Regions from separate parts of the Homo sapiens genome. Here all the other regions are linked to region 3. Evidence: promoter capture Hi-C in 16 types of primary human blood cells and fetal thymus (Javierre and others, 2016). All regions are on one chromosome and are shown on one strand. The core of a region is centred on a gene start or on the middle of the fragment in contact, and the rest is flanking DNA. Distances in the headings are between cores, read along the strand shown.

Region 1 (5,404 bases), core at 39-2,538, 210 kb before region 3:
CCACATTCTCACCAACGCTTGTTTTCTTTTGTCTTTATGGTAATAGCCATTCTAACAGGTGTGAGGTTAAGAGATAGGAAAAAATAAAAATGTAAAATGCAAACCCAATAATAGGGGCCAGGTGTGGTGGCTCACATCTGTAATCCCAGCACTTTGGAAGGCCGAGGCAGGCAGATCACCTGAGGTCAGGAGTTCGAGATCAGCCTGGCCAACATGGTGAAACCCCGTCTCTACTGAAAAAAAAAAATACAAAAATAAGCCAGTTGTGGTGGCAGGCAACTGTAATCCCAGCTACTCGGGAGGCTGAGGCAGGAGAATTGCTTGAACCCGGGAGGTGGAGGTTGCAGTGAGCAGAGATCGTGCCACTGCACTCCAGCCTGGGAGACAGAGTGAGACTCCGTCTTAAAAAAAAAAAAAAAGAAAAAGAAAGCATATAATAGGAAGAACTGACTATTTTTTCTTCCACCTTCACATACCACTCAACACAGCCCTTCTGACACCAGATGTGTGCCGGTCTTTTCCCATACACCAAGCAGTTTTCCAGTGGACATCAACTGGGTGTTCTATAATTTAATTCAATTCTGGCATTATCTACCTGGAGATAGCATCAGACCTCACAGATTGTGGGTCAGTCCCACAAGATGGACCCCACTTCAGATGCCAATCTCAAATTTCAGGTTGTGACCTGTACTTCTGATCAACTGGCTTAGGGGTTCCTACAACCCATGCCTTGGGTTCCATTAATTTGCTAAGCTGGCTTAGCAAACTCGGGGAAACACTTACTTAACTTTTAGCAGTTTATTATGCTAATAAAGGATATAATAAAGCATACAAGCCAGGTGTGGTGGTGCATGCCTGTAATCCCAGCACTCCGGAAGGCCAAGGTGGGCAGATCACTTCGGGCCAGGAGTTTGAGACCAGTCTGGCCAGCATGATGAAACTTCCATCTCTACTAAAAAAACACAAAAATTAGTTGGGCATGGTGGCTCACACCTATAGTCCCAGCTACTCAGGATGCTGAAGCATGAGAATCGCTTGAACTCAGGAGGCAGAGGTTGCAGTAGCTGAGATCGCACCACTGCACTCCAGCCTGGGTGACAGAGCGAGATTCTGTCTCAAAAAAAAAAAAAGTTACGTATGAACAGCTCGATGAAAGTACAGAGGGTAAGAACGGGAGGGGTCTGAGCACAGAAGCTTCTGTCCCCTGGAGTTGGGGTGTGCCACCCTCCTGCTACACAGATATATTTACCAACTCAGAAGCTCTTTGAACTCCATACTTCAGGGATTTTTATGGAGACTTGATCATGTAGGCACGATTAATTATTTACTCTATTCCCAGCCCCTCTCGTCTCTCGGGAGAATGGGGAGTGGGGCTGAAAATTCCAAGCTTCTAGTCATGACTTGGTCTTTCTGGGGACTGGCACCTCTCCTAGAGCCTACCAGGAGTCATCTCATTAGAACAAAACAAACTCCTGTCATCCAGAAATTCCAAGCTATTCGAAAGCTCTGTGTCAGATGCTCTTATCACTCAGGAAATTCTCAGGGCTTTAGGAAATCTGTGCCAGGAACCAGGGGCAGAGACCAAATATATATTATTCTTATTATTTCACAGAGATGATATCTCACTGTGATTTTGATTTGTATTTCCCTCATGATTACCGTGTTAAGCACATTTTCATACACTTGTTGGACAATTGTATGTCTTCTTTTGAGAAATGTCTATTCAGGTCCTCTGTCCATTTTTAATTGGGTTATTTATGTGAGAATAAATATGATTTAAAAGCTGTTCGTGGACCAGGCGCGGTGGCTCACGCCTATAATCTCAGCACTTTGGGAGGCTGAGGTGGGCAGATCACTTGAGGTCAGGAGTTCGAGACCAGCCTGGCCAACATGGTGAAACCTCATCTCTACTAAACATACAAAAATTAGCTGGGTGTGGTGGCGCATACCTGTAATCCCAGTTACTCGAGAGGCTGCGGCAGAATTGCTTGAACCCAGGAGGCGGAGGTTGCAGTATGCTGAGATCACACCATTATACTCCAGCCTGGGCGACAAGAGTGAAACTCCATCTCAAAAAAATTTTAAAAAGCTGTTGGAACCCCAGAAACACTGTAAGCCTTGAGAGAGATGTGACTGTGATCTGAGTCACATATGGTTGCAACATCTGCTTCTCAAGTTATAGACTAACCCACTTCCTTATTTTTCTTGTCCTGTACAGTAACTAGAGAAAATTAAATGACCTCAAGGACAAAAACCTCCTGCCTTGTTAATTAATGACCCTTATCATAGATTAACTTCTCCTTTGTCGTCTTGCTTTGCCTAGACCAGATGACAGAAAACATATGACTATTACAACATCTGCAAAAGATGCTATATGTACCCTTCCCAAAAAGAAACACTGCCTATAATCAATCAAATTGTTATAACTATGCACCAACCTTGTATGAAAAATGCTGTAAGTGTGCATAAACTCCTGTGTCTCTGCCTATATAAATGATACTTTAACTTCCCTAGTTCAGAACACTGACTCCATTTCCTTAGAGTTGGTGTTTCTGAATGGACTGTCTTCAAACTTTGTCCTTGAATAAACTTTATTTAAATTAGATTCTGACCCTTTTGATTATTTTAGGTTGACATTTTTTTTTGGTACTAAGTTGTATGAATTCCTTATATATTTTGGATATTAAACCCCTGTCTACCTTTTTTTCCTTTTTGAAACAGGGTCTCGCTCTGTCACCCAGGCTGGAGTCCAGTGATGCAATCACAGCTCACTGCAGCCTTGACCTCCCAGGCTCAAACAATCCTCCTGCCTCAGCCTCCCGAGTAGCTGGGACTACAGACACAAGCCACCATGCCCAGATGATTTTTATACTTTTTTTGTAGGAATAGAGGCCTCACTTTGTTGCCCAGGCTGACCTTAAACTCCTTGGCTCAAGTGATCCTCCTGCCTCAGCTTCCCAAAGTTCTGGGATTATATGGCATTAGCCACTGCACCTGGCCGGACATTAACCCCTTCATCAGATATATGATTAGCAAATATTTTCTTCTAACCTATAGGTTGCCTTTTCATGTTGATGATTGTTTTCTTTGCTGTGTAGAAGCTTTTCAGTTTGATTTAGTCCCACTTTTTATTTATGCTTTTATTGCCTATTCTTTCGGTGTCATAGCCAAAAACATCATTGCCAAGGCCAACGTCAAGAAGCTGCCCATTCCCACTCCCATTTTCTTCTAGTAGTTTTACGGTTTCAGGCCTTATTTAAGTCCTTAATCCATTTTAGTTGATTTTTGTGTATGGTGTAAGATAAGGGTCCAATTTCATTCTTTTGCATGTGGATATCCAGTTTTCCTAACACAATTTATTGAAGAGACTATCCTTTCCCTACTGTGTATTCTTGGTACCCCTGTTGAAAATTAGTTGACTTGTGGGGTGTGGTGGCTCACGTCTGTATTTCCAACACTTTGGGAGGCCGAGGTGGGTGGATCACTTGAGGTCAGGAGTTCAAGACCAGCTTGGCCAACATGGTGAAACCCTGTCTCTACTAAAAATACAAAAATTAGTCAGGTGTGGTGGCTCATGCCTGTAATACCAGCTACTTGGGAGGCTGAGGCAGGAGAATCACTGAACCTGGGAGGTGGAGGTTGCAGTGAGCTGAGATCATGCCACTGCACTCCAGGCCGGGCAACAGAGACTCTGTCTCAAACACATACACACACACACACACACAAAGAAAATTAGTTGACTTTGTATGCTGGAGTTTATTAGGGAGTTTTCTATTCTCTTAGTCTACATGTCTGTTTTTATGCCAGTACCATACAGTTTTGACTACCATAGTTTTGTGCTATAATTTGAAATCAGAAAGTATGCCTGTAACTTTGTCCTTCTTTCTCAAGATTGATTTGTGTATTCAGGGTCTTTTGTTCCACACAAATTTTAGAATTGTTTATTTCTTTGAAAAATGGAATTTTGATGGGAATTGTGTTTAATCATTTAATCTCTATGTCCCTTTATTTAGTATAAACTTTTTTTTTTTTTTGAAGGAGTGGAGTGCAGGCTGGAGTGCAGTGGCATGATCATGGCTCACTACAGCCTCGATTTCCGAGGTTCAGGTGATCCTCCCACCTCAGCCTCCTGAGTAGCTGGGACTACAGGTATGTGCCACCATGCCCAGCTAATTTTTGTATTTCTTGTAGAGATGGGGTTTTGCCATGTTGCTCAGGCTGGTCTCGAACTCCTGGGCTCATATGATCTGTCTGCCTTGGCCTCCCAAAGTGTTGCGATTATAGGCGTGAGCCACTGTGCCAGGCCAATATAGACATTTTAACAATATTAACTCTTCTAATCCATGAACACAGGATATCCTTCCACTTATTTGTCGTCTTCTTCAACTTCTTTCATCAATGTTTTATAAGTTTCAGTGTATATATCTCTTACCTCCTTGGTTAAGTTTATTCTTAACTATTGTATTCTTTTTGATGCTATCATAAATGAAATTAGTTTCTTGATTTCCTTTTCGGGTAGATATTTGTTCTTGTAAATAAATGCAACTACTTTTTGTATGTTGGCTTTTTAATCCTGCAACTTTACTGAATTTATTAGTTCTAATTGTTTTTTTGTGTGTGGACTCCTTAGTTTTCTACATACAGAATTATGTCATCTACAAAGAGAAATAATTTTACTTCTTCCTCTCAAATTTGGATGCCTCTTATTTTTCTTGTGTGATTGTTCTTGCTAGCACTTCCAGCATTATGTTGAATAGAAGTGGCAACAGTGGGCATCCTCATCTTGTACAAGATCTTAGAGAAAAAGTTTTCAGCTTTTCCATTAATTTTGATGTTAGCTGTGTGCTTTTCATAAATGGCTGTTATTGTGCCAAGGAATTTCCTTCTATACCTATTTTGATGCGTTTTTTTTTTCTCTGCCATGAATGAGTATTGAAGTTTGTCAAATGCTTCTGCATCTCTTGACATGATCATGTGGTTTTTAATATGACATAGCACATTGATTGATTTGTATGTGTTAAACCACTCCAAAGGATAAATCCCACTTAGTTATGGTGTAGAATCTTTCTGATGTGTTGTTGAATTTGGTTTGTTACTACTTTATTGAGGATTTTTGTATCTATCACATATTTCTTTTTCCTTTTTTTTCTTTTCTTTTCTTTTTTTTTTTTTTTGAAACAGAGTCTTGCTCTGTCACCCAGGCTGGAGTGCAATGGCGGGATCTCAGCTCACTGCAACCTCTGCCTCCCGGGTTCAAGCAATTCTCCTGCCTCAACCTCCTGAGTAGCTGGGATTACAGGCGCCCGCCACCAAGCCAGGCTAATTTTTGCATTTTAGTAATGATGGGGTTTCACCATGTTAGTCAGGCTGGTCTCCAACTTCTGACCTCAAGTGATCCACCCAC
Region 2 (5,530 bases), core at 1,060-3,559, 200 kb after region 3:
GGGCACAGCTTAGTTTTATATATTTCAGGGAGTCATGACACATCAATCAAACACACTTAAGAAATGCATTGGTTTCGCTCAGAAAGGTGGGACAACTCAAAGCAAGGGCTTCCAGGCTAAAGGTAAATTTAAATCTTTTCTGGCTGACAATTGGTTGAGTTTGTCTGACCCGTATTAATTTCCTAGTGCTGCCCTGACAAAGTACCATAAACTTGGTGGCTAAAGCCAGCGGAAATGTATGGTCTGACAGTTCTGGAGGCCCAAAGTCAAAGTGTTGGCAGGGATGGTTCCTTCTGGGGGAGAATCTACTCAGTCCACTAATTTAAATACTAATCTCTAGTGGAAACACCTGAACAGACACACGCAGAAGTAATACTTAACCAGATATATGGATATTTCATGGCCCTGTTAAGCTGACACATAAAATTAATCATCACAGAAGCTCACCTATGATTAATTGATTTTTTTGAGGGTGCAAAAAGCTACTCAGTGATGAGTATAATAAAATATTAGAAAGAGTGTTTTTGGTTGACTCAGAATTTTGGCTAAAATCTAAAGCTGAGAACAATAGGTGTTAAGAAATCCTATATTCCAAAGAGAGTTCTTAGCTTACCCTACAGGACTTTCCAAACTGGTCTAAGGACAATTACCAACAGCCCATATCAGGAAAAGATAGAGACTGATTGAAACCACCTTTGCGAAATTATGACAGTAAGAGAAAACTGACATAGTTGACTCCATTTTGCTTCTAAGCTACAAGATGTCTTCGGTGATTCCTCAGTGTAGGCCAAACTAACTTCAGGAGGCACTTAATTTATACTTTAACCTTAGAGCAAAGATGATAATAGCCCTCTCCTAAAACTAAACCACCTCTGTAAAACTAATGAAAGGCCACAGGTTAGGATTAGGAATTATGAGAGGGGCCTGAATTCTGCTAAAATGTAGGCAAAGTGAAACGATAACCAGCCATTGTTCTGGAGGTCACAAGATTTGTAACTTCCCCAATTACTCCTGTAGATGACATCAACTGTTATAGAACCCAAGATTGGCCTTTTGAGATTTTTTTCAGACTGTTAACGTTTCTCATGACCAGCTGACTCGGGCCAGACCTGCAACTCATGAGTCAATCAGTCCTGTAGCCCTACCCAGAGGCCAATTCAGTGCATGAAGACTATTTTCCACACTCCTATGATTTTACCCCAATCAATCAATATTCCCCATTCTCTAGCCCTCTGACCACCAACTATCCTTTAAAACCCCCAAAACTTTGAGCCTTCAGGGAGACTGATTTGAGTGATATTTCTGGTTCTACTACATGAGTTAGCCTCCTGTCAATCAAACTCTTTCTTTACTGCTATGCCGTAGTCTCAGTGAATTGATTTTGCCTGTGCAGAGGGCAGGAAGAAACTGCCGGTGATTACATGATTGCAGAGACAAATTCCTTGAAAGAATTTGTGAATCAAAAGATTGCTGGGGTCTGGGTGTAGTGGCTTACATTTGTAACCACAGCACTTTGGGAGGCCAAGGAGGGAAGATCGCTTGAGCTTAGGAGTTCAAGACTGGCCTGGGGAACGTAGAAAGTCATCATCTCTAACAAAAATAAAAAAATAAAAGAATTAGCTGGGCAAGGTGGTTTATATCTGTAGTCCCAGCTACTAGGGAGGCTGAGGTGAGAGGATCACTTGAGCCTGGGTGATAGAGGCTACAATGGGCTACAATCATACCACTGCACTCCAGCTAGGGTGACAGAATGAGACTCTTTAAAAAAAAAAAAGGGGATTACTGGGGTATTTCCCCTCCCACCCTGATTCCAAGTGAGAGGGGAAACAAGAGGGCACTTTGGGGAAATTGGGCACTGCTTGCTGAAGGCAGACAGAGTCTTACTCCTTGGCTCTATGCTTGCTCAGCTATGGGAGCTTGTAAATTTGAGACAGCATGGAGAATAAAAAAGTGTTTGGAAGAACCTGACCTATGTCCCTTACTGAAGAGGACAAAGACACTTTTGTGTGACTATTGTTTAGAGAGGCCCAGTGGTGAGAAGTTAGCAGAAGTTGCTCCTGATGACAGGGTAAGGTGGGGTGGCTTCAAGGCTCAGCTTCACTATTTGGTGAGTGGGTATATGAGCTCCCCTCATCCCAGAAGTAGCAGATGTGGGTTTGCGTCCTCTACAAAGGGCTTTATCCAAGAGGACTCCCTATCGGTGGGAGATCCTACAAGAAAGAAGCCATGTTGGATGCTTCACTAGAAGTTGAGAGCTAAGGTAAAGTCACAGGAGGCCTCCCAGAGAGCATCTCACCTGTATCAGGGAATGATGCAGTGCAGAAATTCCTCAGGGATGTATCTCTGTGTAGGATCTCCTAAAAATCCATTGAAGAACCCCATGAGAGACAATTGGTATTTGTGTATTGTATCAGTCAGGTTTCAACCACAGAAGCAGAACCAGTAGAAGAGATACATACAGTCATGCACAGCATAATGATGTTTCGGTTAACAATAGATCACACATATGCCGTAATTATATCCATAAGATTATAGCGAAGCTGAAAAATTCCTAGTGACATCCTATCTCTAGGGACATCATAGCTGTCATAACATCACAGCACAACACATTACTCATTACTCACGTGTTCGTGGTGATGCTGGTGTAAATGAACCTACTTCACTGCCAGTCATGTAAAAACCATAGCACATACGGTTATGTATGATACATAATACCTGATGATAATATGTGCCTCTGTTATTGATTTATGTACTTAATATACCATACTTTTTTTTTTTCTTTTGAGATGGAGTTTCACTCTTGTCACCCAGGCTGGAGTGCAATGGTGTGATCTCGGCTCGCTGCAACCTCCGCCTCCCCGGTTCCAGCGATTCTTCCGCCACAGCCTCCCGAGTAGCTGGGATTTACAGGCATGCGCCACCATGCCCGGCTAATTTTTTGTATTTTTAGTAGAGACGGGTTTCATCATGTTGGCCAGGCTGGTCTCAAACTCCTGACCACAGATGATCCGCCCGCCTCGGCCTCCCAAAGTGTTGGGATTACAGGCGTGAGGCACCGTGCCTGGCCATTATACTTTTTACTGTTATTTTAGAGTACATTCTTTATACTTATCCATTAAAAAATTTGTTAATTGTAAAACGGTCTTGGGCAGGCCCTTCAGGAGGTTTTCCAGAACAAGGCATTGTTATCACAGGAGAGGACAGCTTCATGCGTGTTACTGCCCCTGAAGAACTCCCAGTGGGACAAGATAAGGAAGTAGAACAGTGATATTGATGATCCTGACCCTGTGTAGGCCTTGGCTAATGTATGTTTTTGTGTCTTAGTTTTTAACAAAGCTATTTAAAAAGTAAAAAAAAAATTAAATAGAAAAAAACTTATATAATAAGGATATAAAGAAAGAAAATATTTTTGTATAGCTGTACAATACATTTGTGTGGTAAGCTGTGCGTTCATACAAAAAAGTGTAGTTTGGAGATTTCTCGAAGAACTTAAGACAGAACTACCTTGGAACCAACCCAAATGTCCATCGATGATAGACTGGATAAAGAAAATGTGGCACATATACACCATGGAATACTATACAGCCATAAAAAAGGATGAGTTCATGTCCTTTGCAGGGACATGGATGAAGCTGGAAACCATCATTCTCAGCAAACCATCACAATAACAGAAAACCAAACACCACATGTTCTCACTCATAAGTGGGAGTCGAACAATGAGAACACATGGACACAGGGAGGGGAACATCACACACCAGGGCCTGTCAGGGGGTAGGGAGCTAGGGGGAGGGATAGCATTAGGAGAAATACCTAATGCAGGTGACGGGTTGATGGGTGCAGCAAACAACCATGGCACATGTATACCTATGTAACAAAACTGCACGTTCTGCACGTGTACTCCAGAACTTAAAGTAAAAAAAAAAAAAAAAGACAGAACTACCATTCAACTCAGCAATCTCATCACTGAGTATATACCCAAAGGAATATAAATTGTTCTACCAAAAAGGCACATGCACGTGCATGTTCCTTGCAGCACTATTCACAATGGCAGAGACATGGAATCAACCTAGATGCCCATCAACAGTGGACTGGATAAAGAAAATGTGGTACATCTACACCATGAAATACTACACAGCCATAAAAAATAAAATCATATTCTTTGCAGCAACATGGATGGAGCTGGAGGCCATTATCCTAAGTGAACCAATGTAGGAACAGACAACCAAATACCACATGTTCTCACTTATAAGTAGGAGGTAAACATTTAGTATGCAGGGAGGCAGAGTGGAACAAAAGACACTGAGGGCTACTTGAGAGTGGAGATTGGGAGAGAGTGAGGATGGAAAAACTGTCTATTGGGTACTGTGCTCATACCTGGGTAACGAAATCATTTGTACACCCAACCCAGTGACATGCAATTTACCCATGTAACAAACCTGCACATGTACCCACTGAACCTAAAATAAAAGTTAACACAAAAAGGAAAAAGTTTATTAAGTAAAAAAATTAGAAGAAGCTAAGGTTAATTTATTATTGAAGAAAGAGATTTCACTTCACGGCAGCTGTGGCCTGACTGTGAGGCGGCTGACCAGCCTCAGCTGAGAGTGGAGTGGTGGCCGTGGCCCTCCTTAGGAGATCACCATATCACCTCTTACTGTGGCCTTACCATGGCGACCTATGGGCAGACCTGCATGTGGCCAGTGTGGATTTCTTCATCATATGTTAACCTTGGCAAAGCTGCCAGAGATATTTTTAACAAAGGATTTGGTTTGGGGTTGGTAAAACTGGATGTGAGAACAAAGTCACGCAGTGCTGTGGGATTTTCAACATCTGGTTCATTTAATGCAGACACTGGAAAAGCTTTTGAAGTCTTGGAGACCAAATATAAACGGTGTGAGTATGGTGTGACTTTCCCAGAAAAATGAGACACTGTTAATACTCTGGGAACAGAAATCACAATTGGACCACCTTTGTCAAGGTTTGAAACTAATATTTGATACTACCTTCTTAGCAATCACAGGAAACAAAAGTGGTAAAATCAAGTCCTCTTGCAAGAGGGACTGCATAAACCTTGCTTGTGATGTTAATTTTGATTTTGCTGGACCTGCAATCTATGCTTCAGCTGTCTTTGGTTACGAGGGCTGGCTTGCTGGGTACCAGATGACCACTGACAGTGCCAAGTCAAAGCTGACAAGGAATAACTGTAGTGGGCTACCGGATGGGGGACTTCGAGCTTCACACTAATAACAATAATGGGGCAGAATTTGGAGGCTCAGTTTATCAGAGGGTATGTGACAATCTTGATACTTCAGTAAACCTTGCTCGGACATCAAGTGCCAACTGCACTCATTTTGTCTTGCCACTAAATATCAGTTGCATTTCACTGCTTCTATGTTTGCAAAAGTCAACAACTCTAGTTTAATTGGAGTGGAAGGAAAGAGACTTCATTTACACTCAGACTCTGAGCCTGCTGTGAAGCTTGCACTTTCTGCTCTGCTAGATAAAAAGTGCATTAATGGAGGAGGCCAAA
Region 3 (5,285 bases), core at 1,612-4,111:
CTTTCACCAGCTTGTGGTGAATGGTGCCTGGCCTGGGACTCTCTTTTCAGGGCAGTGAGCTCTCCTCTGACAAACAGCAGGTCCAGAAATGGCATCCAAGAGCCACAGCCCATAACTGGCGACCCCAAGGGCCTGCTTGGTGCTGTACCCCACTGTGGCTGAGCTGGTACCTAAGCTGCAAGACAAAGTCCCCTTGACTCTTCCCTCTCCTTTTCTCAAGTAGAAGGAGTCTCTCCCCATAGTCACCACAGCTGGGAATGTGCTGAATCACTGGAAGCCAGCATGTCTCTGAGTCTCACCCAAGGCCCACGACAAGTACTGCCCAGCTATCACTGCTGAGTATTTAGAGCCCCAGGGGCTAATCGGAACTCAGCTTCCAACCGCTGGGATGGGCAGTTCACCCCTGGCTAACGCTGGTCTAAATGCTCCCTCCATGGGCACTGGCTGAGTTCTGCCCTGTGTGCTTTCCCCTGTGATTGGGCAGCATTGCATTCTAAAGCCAAGTCCCACAGTCACTGTGCTCTCCCGCCCTCAAGCTCATCGATTCTGTCTCTGTACCACAGTCACTGCTGGGGGATGGCGGGGAGGGGGTGAATCAGCAATTCAAGTGTGTCTTTTCTACCCTCTTCAGTGCCTCTTTCAGTGATATAAAGTTAAAACCAGGCACTGTGATCACTCTTCTGATTTTTGGTTCTTATGACAGTGCTGTTTTGCGTGGGCAGTTGTTCAGTTTGGTGTTACTGTGGGGGATGAGGAGGGTGGTCAATGGAGGCTTCTATTCTGCCTCTTGCTCTGCCTCCTGAGCTCCAGGCCTGTGTTTGGACTTTACCTTACTCTCAGAGCAGGTTTTGTAAAAAAGTAAAACCTGTTGGGGTTTTGCTGACTCAGAGCATGTGTGAGGAAGGAGGAGGGATAGAGGAAAGATTCTGAGCAGGAGGCGGAGCGCGGTGGCTCACGCCTATAATCCCAGCACTTTGGGAGGCCAAGGCAGGTGGATCACCTGAGGTCAGGAGTTCATAGACCAGCCTGGCCAACATGGTGAAACCCTGTCTCTACAAAAATTAGCCAAGTGTGGTGGCACCTGCCTGTGGTCCCAGCTACTCCGGAGGCTGGGGTGGGAGAATCACTTGAGCCCAGGAGTTTGAGGCTGAAGTGAGCCACGGTTGTGCCACTGCACTCCAACCTGGGTGACAGAGTGAGACCCTGTATCAAAAAAAAAAAAAAAAAAAAAATTCTGAGCCAGGAAACATCCCCTTTGCTAATGATGCCTGTTCCTTTCCAGTGTATTTCCGCATTGTCACCATGGATAGCAACTTCGTTCCAGTGAATGACAAGGTGAGTTGGGAGGAGGAGAAGGAGTGGCGCAGGGAGAACAGGGAAAAGGATGAGAGATTCTCTAGGGTGGAAGTCCTCTCAGCCTGGGCGTGGCAAGGCGAGGCCCTCTGGGTTGGAGACTGCTGTGTGCGTGGGACTGGAAGTGCTGGGCGAGCTTCAGGGAGCTAGCCTAAATCAGCCTAGGAACAAGCAGAGGTAACCAGTTCTCAGCTTCAGTATCTACACATTCATCAGGTTCTTGAGAGATGGTTATGCTCCTTGTCATTTTATTTTATTTATTTGTTTATTTAGAGACAGAGTCTCGCTCTGTGGCCCAGGCTGGAGTGCAATGGCGTGACCTCAGCTCACTACAACCTCTGCCTCCTGGGTTTAAGCAATTCTCCTGCCTCGGCCTCCCAAATAGTTGGAATTACAGGCGCGCACCATCACGCCTGGCTAATTTTTGTATTTTTAGTAAAAACAGGGTTACATCATGTTGGCCAAGCTGGTCTCAAACTCCTGACCTCAAGTGTTCCACCCACCTCGGCCTCCCAAAGTGCTGGGATTACAGACAAGAGCCACCATGCTCAGCCCCCTTTCATTTTAAGAGTTTTCGCAAACTTCAAGACCTTTTCTTCAGGACTGACAAAAGCATTTTTTTTTTTAAGGCAGAAAGGAGAATGTCCGCTTCCACTCTGTTTCTATGAGGCAAAATAATTTACAAAGTAGGTAATTCTCTTAGGGCAACATTAAATAAATACATGCCAAAGCTTAAAATGTAGCAACATTTTGCGAATATTTGATTTTTCCTTGGACTCCCCATCCCTAGAATCATAAGCCTTACCACAGGTTTGATTTCAAGTTGGAGCATGTGTCATTTCTACATGCTTCTGAGACACTTACCTCCCGGACACCCCTGCTTTCTTCCTCTTCCGTCTGTCCCAGCCTGTGTATTCAAATGAAACTTTTAGAGATAAACATAGAGAAAGCATGATTTCCATTTTCCATCTCCGTGTTCTCAGAGCTGCTGTTTCCTTTCCCTATGTGCAGGGGAGTTATTAGCTTGTTATGATTGGTAATGCCCTACCCGCTACTCTCTTTCCCAATATAGATTTCCTTTTACTTCCTCCTTCCCATCACCTATGGCTTTTCTTTGGTAGGTATAACGTTGAGTACTTCTTACTTTTTTTTTTTTTTTTTAACATTTTAAGACAAGGTCTCATTCTGTCACCTAGGCTGGAGTGCAGTGGCAGTCATGGCTCACTGCAGCTTTGACCCTGCCCCGGGCTCAAGTAATCTTCCCATCTCAGTCTCCCCAGTAGCTGGGACCACAGGTGTGCACTACCACACCTGGCTAATTATTTTATTTTTTTGTAGAGTTGTGGGGGGCGGGGGTCTCACCTTGTTGCGCAGGCCGGTCTTGAGCTCCTGGCCTCTCTCGCTTTGGTCTCCCAAAGTGTTGGGATTATAGGCCTGAGCCACTGCACCCGGCCTGAGTGCTTACTTCTTAACAGACTGTTTTCTCTAGAGCTGCAACAAGGAAGTGCTGGGTTCAAAGCGTGGCCCGCAGCAGCACTATTTTAGACTCACTTACCCTCAGGGTTGATCTCATTAACTACCCCTGTTACGATTCAAATGAAGCGGGATTACTTCCAGGTGTTCTGTTTTCTGCAGTTAGGCTCTTTCTCTTGTGAAATTACTCCTTCCTCCCCACTCTATTTCTCCAGCCAAACTCTCCCTCCAAATTCAGTTGAAACACTGAGATTAACAAAAGGAATTTTACCAAGAAAGCTAGGATAAAAATTGTGTTTATGTAACCACCCAATGGGTTCACCTTGCCTGCTGCTTAGACAGGGTTGATTTATCGAGACAGGGGAATTGCAATGAAGAAAGAGTAACTCACCCAGAGCCGGCTGTGTGGGAGACTGGAGTTTTACTGTTACTCAAATCAGTCTCCCTGAGCATTTGGAAATCGAGTTTTTTTTTGTTTTTGTTTTTGTTTTTTTTTGAGACGGAGTTTCATTCTTGTTGCCCAGGCTGGAGTGCAATGGCGCGATCTCGGCTCGCCGCAACCTCTGCCTCCCAGGTTCAAGTGATTCTCCTGCCTCAGCCTCCCAAGTAGCTGGGATTACAGGCATGCGCCAACACGCCCGGCTAATTTTGGTACTTTTAGTAGAGACGGGGTTTCTTCATGTTGGTCAGGCTGTTCTTGAACTCCCGACCTCAAGTGATCCGCCCGCCTCGGCCTCCCAAAGTGCTGGGATTACAGGCGTGAGCCACCGCGCCTGGCCAGGAAATCGAGTTTTTAAAGATAATTTGGCAGGTAGGGGCTTGGGAAGTGGGGAGTGCTGATTGGTCAGGTTGGAGATGGAGTCATAGATGGTCAAAGTGAGGTTTTCTTGCTGTTTTCCTCCTCCTGGGTGGGATGGCAGAACTGGTTGAGCCAGATTACTGGTCTGGGTGGTGTCAGCTGATCCACTGAATGCAGGGTCTGCAGAACATCTCAGGCGCTGATCTTGGGTTTTACAACAGTGATGTTCTCCCCAGGAGCAATTTGAAGAGGTTCAGACTCTTGGAGTCAGAGGCTGCATGACCCCTAAAGTGTAATTTCTAATCTTGTAGCTAATTTGTTAGTCCTGCAAAGGCAGACTGGTCCCCGGGCAAGAAGGGGGTCTTTTTGGGAAAGGGCTGTTATCAATTTTGTTTCAGAGTCAAACCATGAACTGAATTCCTTCCCAAAGTTAGTCTGGCTTACACCCAGGAATCCACAAGGACAGCTTACAAGTTAGAAGCAAGATGGAGTCGGTTAGGTCTGACATCTTTCACTTTCATAGTTTCCTCAGTTATAATTTTGCAAAGGCGGCTTCAGTCCCTCCCTTTGGGTTTTATAACACCTTAATCTTCAGGTGTGGGCTAGGAAGATGGGAAAAGGCTGTCGATTGTTCTGGCTTCTTCCTGCTGAGAGGGGGCGTAGTGAGGGTACCTAAGGTGAGAGGAGTGGAACTGCTTAGAAGCAAGATAGCGTTGGTTAGGTCTGATTTCTTTCACTGTCATCGTTTCCTCAGTTTTAATTTTGCAAAGTCAGTTTCATTTACACAGCACAATATTTAATCCCCAAACAAGTAAAGTAAGCCTGATATTAACTGACCCTGTCTAACTTGATTGCTATACTCAGTTATTCAGAAACTCCAGGCAACTTCCAGTCGGAAATGCTACTTTCCTTTTTTTTTTTTGAGACGGAGTTTCGCTGCGTTGCCCAGGTTGGAGTGCAGTAGCGGGATCTCAGCTCACTGCAACCTCCCCCTCCTGGGTTCAAAGGATTCTCCCGCCTCAGCCTCCCAAGTAGTTGGGTTTACAGGAATGTACCACCACATCTGGCTAATTTTGTATTTTTAGTAGAAATGTGGTTTTACCATGTCGGTCAGGCTGGTCTCAAACTCCTGACCTCAGGTGATCTGCCCACCTCAGCCTCCCAAAGTGCTGGGATTATGGGCGTGAGCCACCATGCCTGGCCTCAGCAATGCTACTTTCCTAGTGAAACACTTATTTTCTTCCAGAGCCTATTTCTGGCCAACTGATGTCTTTCCTGATTCTTGATCCCTGTGTGAGAAAAGTACTTTGTTATCGAAGTGTTTTTTGTTGTTGTTGTTTTGTATTTTGTTTTTGAGTTACTTTGTCACCCAGGCTGGAGTGCAGTGGCATGATCCCGGCTCAAGCAACCTCCACTGTCCGGGTTCAAGTGATTCTTCTGCCTCAGCCTCCGGAGTAGCTGGGGTTACAGGCATGTGCCACCATGTCCGGCTAATTTTTGTATTTTTAGTAGAGAGGGGTTTCACCATGTTGGCCAGGCTGGTCTTGAACTCCTAACCTCAGGTGATCCAACCGCCACAGCCTCCCAAAGTGCTGGGATTACAGGTGTGAGCCACCGTGTCTGGCCTAAAGAAGTGTTTGTTTGTTTTGTTTTGTTTTGA
Region 4 (5,451 bases), core at 1,386-3,885, 200 kb before region 3:
GATGGGTTGACAGGTGCAGCAAACCACCATGGCACATGTATACCTATGCAACAAACCTGCACGTTCTGCACATGTATCCCAGAACTCAAAGTAAAATTAAAAAAAAAAAAAAGAATAACCAAAATTTCGTCTTTCTACTTCAAAGCTTCCCTTAAAGAAACGTAGAAGACGAGATATTTCAAAAATATAAGTTGTCACCATCAACAAGTTATCTGCACCCATAGTTCCAAGTTTTCTGATTAGTTATGAAATATGAGTAGATTTATGGTTCTCACATTTTGGTGTGAGTGAGTGAGTGCATAAAATTGCAGATTCTACAAATTTTGATTTCATGCATCCCAGGGCTCTGCCGTTTTGAAAAACATGCCAATAATTCATTCCAAATCTGGTGGTCAGTTTGGAGCCAAACTTTGATAGATATTGGCCTAGAAGATCTCCAAAGTCTCATCCAGCTCTAAAACGACAATATATATATTTTTAAACTGTCATGGGGTTATGGGGAAAAGGAGGTCGCTTTTCAACAAATTGAAATGCCAGGGAAAATTAGAGGTGCTCCAAATCACATGGAACTCTTCACAGGGTTTTTTTCTTTGTGGGTAGATACATTCCAAAGACCAAATTCCATATTAGTTGTTTGCTCAGAGATGCAATGTAAAGACTGATATGATTCCAAAGACTAGTAGAATAAATCTTGACCCAATTAGCTCTAAAATGGATGAGGGACAGTTCCTAAGGAAATTATAGCATATTAGAAACAACATGTTTTCTGTAGAATTGCCATTCTCATCTATAAAGATATTTCTTTCTAGAGAGTCTCGAAGTCCTGGAACCATGTTGGTAAATTCTTCCTCCTTGGTTCTCTTTTTCTTTTAGGGTCTGCACGGATGATTGCCTTTCTACTAATCAAATCACAACCCCTCTTGATTTCATTAAAATCAGTGTCCTTAATGAGATTTGAGAAGCAAACGAATTGACATCAGCAGCTCAAATTCTTTTTTTTTTTTTTTTTTTAGACGGAGTCTCGCTTTGTCGCTCAGGCTGGGGTGCAGTGGCGCGATCTGGGCTCACTGCAAGCTCCGCCTCCCAGGTTCACGCCATTCTCCTGCCTCCGCCTCCCGAGTAGCTGGGACTACAGGCGCCCACCACCTCGCCCGGCTAATTTTTTCTATTTTTTAGTAGAGACGGGGTTTCACCGTGTTAGCCAGGATCGTCTCGATCTCCTGACCTCGTGATCTGCCCGCCTCGGCCTCCCAAAGTTCTGGGATTACAGGCGTGAGCCACTGCGCCCGGCCAGCAGCTCCAAATTCTTTAGTTCACACTGCAGCCGGTTTCCCCCTCCCCACAACCCCTCACCCTTCTTACCCACCCATCACCGATCCACACACTCCCCGCCCATATCCACACATTGGCTAAAATTACCAATCAATGAGGGCCTTTTCACTTTGTTACCAGAGGAGGAAAGGGAGAGTCAACCATCTCAGTATGGTTAGAAAACAACACTACTAACTCGGTACATGCCAGCACTTTGGGTAATTTATTCAGCCTGCCCCTACCTCCATGCATTCGGGTTACTTTAGACCTCCATCCATAGGTTCCCTAAAGGAGGTATGGCTACAGCAAAAAATAAGTAAAATCAAAATTCTCCTATTGAGATGATTTTCCTGGATGTGCTCTGTAATTAGTTATTTACGCTCCGAGCAAATAATCCTAAAATCTTGATTAAGACAGACTAGAAAAGTCACATTGTGCATGATTTCATTTATAGGGAAGTATTTAATTTATATGAAAATATATCCGGGATAGGTAAATCCCTAGAGGCAGAAAGCAGACTGGTAGTTGCCCAGGGGCTAGAGAGGAGACTAGGGAGTTGCTACTTAAGGAATATGAGGTTTTCTTTTGGGGATAGGAAAAAGTTTTGAAAATAGAGGTGGTTGGGCCGGGCGCGGTGGCTCACGCCTGTAATCCCAGCACTTTGGGAGGCCGAGGCGGGGCAGATCACGAGGTCAGGAGATCGAGACCAACCTAGCTAACACGGTGAAACCCCGTCTCTACTAAAAATACAAAAAAAAATTAGCCGGGCGTGGTGGCGGGCGCCTGTGGTCCCAGCTACTCGGGAGGCTGAGGCAGGAGAATGGCGTGAACCCGGGAGGCGGAGCTTGCAGTGAGCCGAGACCTCGCCATTGCCCTCCAGCCTGCGCGACAGAGCAAGACTCCGTCTCAAAAAAAAAAAAAAAGAAAAGAAAAAGAAAAAGAAAAAGAAAATAGAGGTGGTAGTTACACAAGTCTGTATGTACCAAACGCCACTCAATTGTACACTTTAAAATGCTTAATAGTGTGTTATGTCAATTTCACCTTAATTTTTAAAAATCCTGATTAAGAGGAAAAGTCCTCCGCTCAGGCGGCCCTGCTAAAGTGCTCTTCACTGCTGTCCTCTTCAGCTCAACATGGTGGCCTACCGGGCGATTGGCATCCTCAGCCGCTTCTCTGACTTCAGGATCCTCTGATCCCAAGGTTATATACGCCGCAATTTTACAGAGTCTTCTGCTTTGCTGACCAGAACCCATATTAACTATGGAGTCAAAGGGGATGTGGCAGTTATTCGAATTAAATCTTCCACTTCAAAGGTAAATACACTGAGTAAAGAGCTGCATTCAGAGTTCACGGAAGTTATGAATGAAGTCTGGGCTACTAATCAAATCAGAAATGCTGTCCTTATTTCATCCAAAGCCAGGCCGCTTTATTGCAGGTGCTGATATCAATATGTTAGCCACTTGCAAGACCCCTCAAGAAGTAACACAGGTATCACAAGAAGCACAGAGAACATTTGAGAAACTTGAAAAGGCCGCAAAGCCTGTTATAGCTGCCATCAGTGGATCCTGCCTGGGAGGAGGGCTTGAGCTTGCCATTTCATGCCAATACAGAATAGCAACAAAAGATGGAAAAACAATATTAGGTGCCCCTGAAGTCTTGCTGGGGATCTTACCAGGAGCAGGAGGCACACAAAGGCTGCCCAAAATGGTGGGTGTGCCTGCTGTTTTTGACATGATGCTGACTAGTAGAAACATTCATGCAGATAGCGCAAAGAAAATGGGACTGGTTGACCAATTGGTAGAACCCCTGGGACCGGGAATAAAACCTCCAGAGGAATGGACAATCGAATACCTGGAAGCAGTTGCAATTACTTTTGCCAAAGGACTAGCTGATAAGAAGATCTCTCCAAAGAGAGACAAGGGATTGGTGGAAAAATTGACAGCGTACACCATGACTATTCCATTTGTCAGGCAACAGGTTTACAAAAAAGTGGAAGAAAAAGTGCAAAAGGAGACTAAAGGCCTTTATCCTGCACCTCTGAAAATAATTGACGTGGTAAAGACTGGAATTGAGCGAGGGATTGATGCTGGTTATCTCTCTGAATCTCAGAAATTTGGATAGCTTGCAATGACCAGTGAATCAAAGGCCTTGATGGGTCTCTACCATGGTCAGGTCTTGTGCAAGAAGAATAAATTTGGAGCACCACAGAAGGATGTTAAGCGTCTGGCTATTCTTGGTGAAGGGCTGAAGGGAGCAGGCATCACCCAAGTCTCTGTGGATAAGAGGCTAAAGACTATACTTAAAGATGCCACACTCACTAGGCTAGGCCAAGGACAGCAACAAGTGTTCAAAGGATTGAATGATAAAGTGAATAAGAAAGCTCTAACATCATTTGTAAGGGATTCCATCTTCAGCAACTTGACTGGGTGTGGGGAAAAGAGAGATCAGACGGTTACTGTGTCTATGCGGAAAGAAGAAGACATAAGAGACTCCATTTTGTTCTGTACTAAGAAAAATTCTTCCGCCTTGAGATGCTGTTAATCTGTAACCCTACCCCCAACCCTGTGCTTGCGGAAACATGTGCTGTGTCGACTCAAGGTTTAATGGATTTAGGGCTATGCAGGATGTGCTTTGTTAAACAAATGCTTGAAGGCAGCATGCTCATTAAGAGTCATCACCACTCCCTAATCTCAAGTACACAGGGACACAAACACTGCGGAAGGCCGCAGGGACCTCCGCCTAGGAAAGCCAGGTATTGTCCAAGGTTTCTCCCCATGTGATAGTCTGAAATATGGCCTCGTGGGAAGGGAAAGACCTGACCGTCCCCCAGCCCGACACCCGACACCCGTAAAGGGTCTGTGCTGAGGAGGATTAGAAAAAGAGGAAAGCCTCTTTGCAGTTGAGATAAGAGGAAGGCATCTGTCTTCTGCTCATCCCTGGGCAATGGAATGTCTCGGTGTAAAACCCGATTGTATATTCCATCTACTGAGATAGGAGAAAACCGCCTTAGGGCTGGAGATGAGACATGCTGGCAGCAATACTGCTCTTTAATGCATTGAGATGTTTATGTATGTGCACATCAAAGCACAGCACCTTTTTCTTTACCTTGTTTATGATGCAGAGACATTTGTTCACATGTTTTCCTGCTGACCCTCTCCCCACTATTACCCTATTGTCCTGCCACATTCCCCTCTCCGAGAGGGCAGAGATAATGATCAATAAATGCTGAGGGAACTCAGAGACCGGTGCCGGCGCCGGTCCCCTGGGCCCACTTTTCTTTCTCTATACTTTGTCTCTGTGTCTCTTTCTTTTCTCAGTCTCTCGTCCCACCCGACGAGAAACACCCACAGATGTGGAGGGGCAGGCCACCCCTTCAACTGGGCAGCTTGATTAGCAACGTTTTAAAGGTCGACATGGTGATTGAAGCTGTGTTTGAGGACCTTAGTCTTAAGCACAGAGTGCTAAAGGAAGTAGAAGCGGTGATTCCAGATCACTGTGTCTTTGCCAGTAACACATCTGCTTTCCCAATCAGTGAAATCGCTGCTGTCAGCAAAAGACCTGAGAAGGTGATTGGCATGCACTACTTCTCTCCCATGGACAAGATGCAGCTGCTGGAGATGATCACAACCGAGAAAACTTCCAAAGACACTCAGTGCTTCAGCTGTGGCAGTCAGTCTCAAGCAGGGGAAGGTCATCATTGTGGTTATGGATGGACCTGGCTTCTATACCACCAGGTGTCTTGCACCCATGATGTCTGAAGTCATCCGAATCCTCCAGGAAGGAGTTGACCTGGAGAAGCTGGATTCCCTGACCACAAGCTTTGGCTTTCCTGTGGGTGCCGCCACACTGGTGGATGAAGTTGGCGTGGATGTAGCGAAACATATGGCGGAAGATCTGCGCAAAGCCCTTGGGGAGCGGTTTGGAGGTGGAAACCCAGAACTGCTGACACAGATGGTGTCCAAGGGCTTCCTAGGTCGCAAGTTTGGGAAGGGCTTTTACATCTATCAGGAGGGTGTGAAGAGTAAGAATTTGAATTCTGATGTGGATAGTATCTTAGTGAGTCTAAAGATGCCTCCTAAGTCTGAAGTCTCCCCAGGTGAAGACATCCAGTTCCGCCTGGTGACAAGATTTGTGAATGAG
Region 5 (5,516 bases), core at 2,989-5,488, 230 kb after region 3:
GCCAGGGCCACCTGTCTGTGTGGAGTTTGCGTATTCTCCCCATGTCTGTGTGGGTTTCCTCTGGGCACTTCGGGTTCCTTGCAAATCCCAGAGATATGCACATTAGGTTCGTTGGCACATCTAAATGGTCCTAGTCTGAGTGTGAGTGTGGGTGTGAGTGTGCCTGCGACGGGGTGTCCTGTGCAGGGTTGTTCCCACCTTGGCCCTGAGCTACCAGGAAAGGCTGTGACCACCTGTGACCCTGAACTAGAATACACAGCTTGGAAAAAGAAACAAAGAATGAATACATAATTTCACAATAATTTGTGAAATTAATGGCTAAGAATGGGATCCATCAGATGTCTACCCTGTGAAGTAGATGATAATCATACAGATACATGGCAATAAATGATGCAGGATGAAAATGCTCGCGACCCCACCACATTTGTTCTCATTTGTTGTTGAACTGCATGCTGGTAGGAGGTGCTACTTCCTACCAAAACTTTGGTTTGTAAACATTTCTTCCTTGATTTAACCCATCACCACTAAGGAAACCATCCCTATAAACTTTATAAAATTAATCAGGGAAGAAGGGAGGGGGAGAAATGAAAATAAACCCAGCTTGCAGCACACTCAGCATTAAGCACTAGGTCAGCCTGTGCTCGGACCTGCTTCCTCCTAGTTGTTTGCTGCCTGTTGCCCTAGAATCACACAGACCCTAGATCGTAGTTCCCCTTAACTGCTCTACAGATAACAACTTGAACATTATAAAATGCAAAGTTTTCCATTTGAGATATCCTTTCAGGTGCTGCATACTAATGAAACTACTGACATCAACTGGTCTGAAGGACCCCATAGGAGCTGACTCACCAAAGAATGCAGTTTCCATGTCCTGATGAATTCATTCTCCTTACCCCAGCCAATCAATGGTCCCAATTCTCCAGCTCCTCACCCTCCATGATCCCCTTAAAAGCCCCAGCCCAGAACTCTTCAGGGAGGTGAATTTGAGGGTCCCCTCACATCTCCTCACTTGGTGCTCTGTGAACGTTAAACCCTTTCTCTGCTACAAACCCTGCTGTCTCAGTGTAACTGGTCTGTTATTGTGCACTGGTCATACGAATCTGTTGGTCATGTAACACTATGAATGCTGTCACTCAGTGATTCACCATAAATTGGGGAGTCGCCTTGTTTTTATTTATTTATCATGTTTATTTCAATGTTCAATATTAGAAATGTTTTGGGTCTTCATTTAGAAGTTTGGTGATGTTTCTGTGATCAGATATATGCTGTAGAAACAGCTCATTTTATTTTTAAAATTTAAATATAATTTTTATTACCAAGGTTATGTGCAAAATTTTAAAAAGGCAAATTTTCCTATGACTCTTTATGAAAAATAATAGTTCATGGACTTCTTTAATCTTTAATTTTTATGGATACATAATAGTTGCATGTATTTATAGGGTACATGTATTTTTATACAAGCATACAACGTGTAATGATCACTTATAATTGGGATATTCATCACATTAAACGTTTATTATTTATTTGTGTTAGGAGCTTTCCTAACACAATTCTACTATTCTAGTTATTTTTAAATGGAGAGTAAATTACTGTTTACTATAGTTGCTCTATTTTGCTACTGAACACTAGATCTTATTCCTTGGTTATATTGATTAGCCTAGGGTAAAATTGGTTTTGTTCTATGTCATGTCATTTAAAGTTGCAGTTTCTAAGAACCTATCAATGGTGTTAAGAGAGGATCTACTATACAGGTTGAGCATCTCTAATCCAAAAATCTGACATCCAAAGTGTTCCAAAATCTGAAACTTTTCAAGTGCTGAAGTGATGCTAGGAGGAAATACTCACTGGAACATTCTGGGTTTCCAGTTTTTGGATTAGGGATACTCAACTGGTAAGCATACTTCAAATATTTCAAATCTAAAAAATTCAAAATTCAAAACACTTCTGGTCCCAAGTATTTTGGATAAGGGATACGCCACCTGTACTTATTTATACTTCTCCAATAACACGTGATTCTGTCACACACATAAAACTGATATCCAGATGTTTTTCAACCCAAAGTCATACAAATGGTCAGTGGCAGATTTTGGACCAGAAGTTAAGCATTTCTAATTCCATGAAATTGTCGTAATATTATGACTCCCACCTAAACATAACTTATTAATTAATTGATTGATTGATAAATTTTCACCTTTCTGCAATACGGAGCTTCTATCTAGACAGGCCAGTCATTTTACCTGGTGCTAAAATAAACCATTTCTTCTGCTTTTGCAAAAAATGTTTCCACTCAGATATACTCTACACTCTTGTCACTAATCTTCAGTTTAGAAGTTTTTTCTTGGAGTGAAACTTTCCCAGATTGCCATTACATTGCTTTGCATATTCTGAGGTTCTGCAGTAGTGAGGCTGTTGTGAATTGTTCCTAAATTTATGCTAGGTGCTCTTACCTCAATTTGGATGCCATTATTTGTTTATTGCAAATACAGGGTACAATGAAAAGCAGTAAGTGCGCATGGAGTAAATTTGCATTAAATGAAGAAGGAATCAATTATAGAGTCTCTAGAAATACATATTTATTTGCCAACCTCATTCAGTATCTGTATTGCAGGGACAAAATATCCTTTTAAAAAGTCGTGGGTCTGGGGATTCCAGCCAAGTCTTGTTTATAGACACAAGCCTCAAACATTTTCTTGCTCTGTGCCTGTGGAGAGAAGAGGAAAGCGAACAGGATGACTTCGGGCTTGCCAAGGAGTGAATTTAATTCTAATTGGATATGGACAGCAGCAGGGCTTTGCTAAAGGAGACCAAACTGGTTATGGCTGAGAATGGAATCCATCAGATATCTACCCTAATCACAGGGTAATTTCATTTACACTCTTCTGATAAGAAAATCAGGAAACCTTCCAGGAAGTTAGTGTTCCTCTCCAAAGCTGTATAGTTCTGCGTTACCTTGCAGTATGATAAATCTGATATCAACTAATAAAAGATGTAGATGATTTTGTATTTAGGAGGACTGCTTTTGAGAGCAAAATGAAGGCTTGGGATATGTAGAGCAAACTGCCTATCGGCTGCAGGGGACACTGTATTCAGCAAATTTGCTTCATCTGAAACACACAATGGGAGAAAAGCTTGAGAATGGGAGCTTCAACGGGACAGGGCTATGTGGAGAGGCTTTGACCTATTTAAGGACTGCAAACCATACTGAATCAGGGCCTGCGTGATCACAAAAATGTCAGCTCACTGGGGAAATATATAGACATGGTCAAGGAATTTCCACTCTTGATACCATTAGTATAATCCGTTACTCTGGTGGAAAATCAAAGCCTGCTCATGCTACAGTGTTCAAGCAAAGTACTAGGGGGGATCACGCGGGTATGTGTTCTTTCAGTTCTTGTTCCATATTTGCTTCTTTTTTCTTGCATGATATTTCTTATATGTTTTCCTCATCTGAAAGACTTAGCATAATTCTCTCCATAAATCAGTATAATACCCACGATTTATATTCCAGCTGAAATTTTACTTGGGGGGTGTGTGTGTGTGTGTGTGTGTGTATTTTAGGGATGGGGTCTCACTCTTTCACTCACTGCAGCCTCAAACTCCTGGGTTCCAATGATCGTCCTGCCTCAGCCTCCTGAGTAGCTGGGACTACTACAGGTGTGTACCAGCATGCTGGCTGATTTTATTTTTCAATTTTTTGTAGAGATGGGCTCTCACTTAGTTGCCCAGGCTGGTCTCAAACTTCTAGCTTTAAGAGATCATTCTGCCATGGCCTCCCAAACTGCTGGGATTATAGGCATAAGCCACTGTGCCCAGCCTCTTCATTTGCTGTTTAAAGACCACTCAACGCTATAGTTCTCACCCCTCTCTTAGTTCCTACTATAATTATTTGTATAGTTCTTAGGCTCTTCTTTATTTCTTTGCATTGCTATATTATCTTTTTAAGATTTATGTATGCCTTTATTTATAAGCACTTCTACGTAAAACTCTTGGTACTTTGGATTATTTTGCACGACTGATAGGCTTACATATCAATATACATGTATATTACAGGTAGTTTTGGCAGTAGTTTTGTAGGCCAAGGAAGAAAAAATAAGTTATGGAGACAGATTAAACTGAAAACAAGATGTACAAGGGTTTACCACACTTTTATTGCTTTAAGAATTGAGGTTTGGCCTCCACTTCCACCCTTGTTGCTACTATCTCAAGTGAAATAACTCAGAAACAGGAGGTCAAATACTTCACATTCTCACTTATAAGTGGGAGCTAAATAATTTGTACACATGGACATAGAGAGTGGGATAACAGATACTGGAGACTCAGAAGGGTGGGAGGGTGACAGGGCAAGAGGGATGGGAAATCACTTAATGGGTACAATGTACTCTAATTGGGTGATGGCTACACTCAAAGCCCAGACTTCACCACTGTGCAATGTAGCCATGTAACAAAACCATACTTGTACCCCCTAAATCTATATAAAGTAAAAAAGAAAAAAACCCCAAACACATTGGCTTTTATTTTATTTTTCCATCAAAGACACCACACTGGAAAGAACTGAGTTTATCTAGGATTCTGTTTTGCTCACCTGTCTTATAGTAATCATAGGCTTTCACAAAAGCAGGTTTCAGCTTTCTTATGGGGTTGTCTTGCAGAAGAGTGAAAGAAAAGGTCAGTGTTCAATCCGTAACCCAAGAAAGGAAGGAGTAATAATGCGGAACCAGGGAGGCCTCATCTCTTTTTCCTTAGCATCAGTCTTCATCCTTTGAAAGATAATTTTTTAGTGGGCTAATAGGATTCATTCTCTAATTCATTGTGCTCCCTAATGGCTCACATAGGGAGCAGTTGGAGGGTGATGTGGATTTTAGAGTAGGAACCTCAGGAACTTGAGCAGAGGCTCCCAAAAGTAGATTAGAAGTTTATTAGTCTTTTAAACGATTAAAATAATACATATTCCTCCATAATATCCAACACATGGCTCTGCCTATAGTGAGAGATAGATTCTTTATACTGGCAAGCTGACTCTATCTATATTAATATTAATATTTCCAAATATTCAGGAAACAGGCGTACATCAGGGGCTGTTCTTTTGCTGCAAATGAAGTTGATGGAATTACACTGTGATACGACTGACTGTGAGTAATAGATCTAGACTGATAGCATATCTGTTTATCATCTGTATCTAATCTGTCATCTACCTTATTTATCTATTATCTATCTAGCTATCTCTCTATGTATAATTTATCTAACTTCTCTCATACATGTATGCTAAGGTAAGGTTGATTTAATCACTGACAACCCTTGGAAACACTTCCTATCCTTGATTACCAACTTTCAACATGGCTTCTGGATGATGAAGCTTATTTATGGAAAAGAATGTTTATCTGAAGTATACAGAAATATTCATATGCTCATTTTAATATAAACAAACATATATGTTTTAATATAAACATATAAATATTCATATGCTCATTGTAATATAAACAAACATATATGTTTTAATATAAACATATAAATATTCA

Evidence for each region. The method cuts DNA at HindIII sites, captures the fragments that hold promoters and counts their contacts. A CHiCAGO score of 5 or more calls a contact.
Region 1: a contact is called between a fragment that was not itself captured here and the fragment with the promoter of A2ML1-AS1 in region 3, in 1 of 17 cell types (endothelial precursors). The highest score is 6.1, in endothelial precursors.
Region 2: a contact is called between a fragment that was not itself captured here and the fragment with the promoter of A2ML1-AS1 in region 3, in 1 of 17 cell types (M2 macrophages). The highest score is 5.6, in M2 macrophages.
Region 4: a contact is called between a fragment that was not itself captured here and the fragment with the promoter of A2ML1-AS1 in region 3, in 2 of 17 cell types (endothelial precursors and naive B cells). The highest score is 6.5, in endothelial precursors.
Region 5: a contact is called between a fragment that was not itself captured here and the fragment with the promoter of A2ML1-AS1 in region 3, in 4 of 17 cell types (M0 macrophages, activated CD4 T cells, megakaryocytes and 1 more). The highest score is 7.4, in M0 macrophages.

The regions. Positions count from the first base shown.
Region 1 is chr12:8,617,142-8,622,545 of GRCh38, forward strand. No RefSeq gene overlaps it. Among named protein-coding and RNA genes, the nearest start is that of AICDA, 7.0 kb to the left of the region's middle. The HindIII fragment of the contact is 193 bases long and covers 1,193-1,385 here.
Region 2 is chr12:9,031,680-9,037,209 of GRCh38, forward strand. It overlaps a transcript of KLRG1 not described here and the pseudogene VDAC2P2. Among named protein-coding and RNA genes, the nearest start is that of LINC00612, 31 kb to the right of the region's middle. The HindIII fragment of the contact is 5,098 bases long and covers 1-4,858 here.
Region 3 is chr12:8,828,445-8,833,729 of GRCh38, forward strand. A2ML1-AS1 (A2ML1 antisense RNA 1) reads right to left here and starts at 2,862. Exons shown (of 2, transcript NR_046715.1): 1 at 2,218-2,862. It overlaps A2ML1 (alpha-2-macroglobulin like 1), which reads left to right. Exons shown (of 36, transcript NM_144670.6): 4 at 1,283-1,335. RefSeq lists enhancers at 1-668, 3,641-4,384. The HindIII fragment of the contact is 3,703 bases long and covers 2,083-5,285 here.
Region 4 is chr12:8,631,923-8,637,373 of GRCh38, forward strand. It overlaps the pseudogene HADHAP2. Among named protein-coding and RNA genes, the nearest start is that of AICDA, 22 kb to the left of the region's middle. RefSeq lists an enhancer at 3,811-4,620. The HindIII fragment of the contact is 4,984 bases long and covers 144-5,127 here.
Region 5 is chr12:9,053,038-9,058,553 of GRCh38, forward strand. It overlaps LINC00612 (long intergenic non-protein coding RNA 612), which reads right to left. Exons shown (of 3, transcript NR_034140.1): 2 at 4,583-5,516; 3 at 2,552-2,701. It also overlaps a transcript of KLRG1 not described here. Among named protein-coding and RNA genes, the nearest start is that of LINC00612, 9.3 kb to the right of the region's middle. The HindIII fragment of the contact is 2,225 bases long and covers 3,127-5,351 here.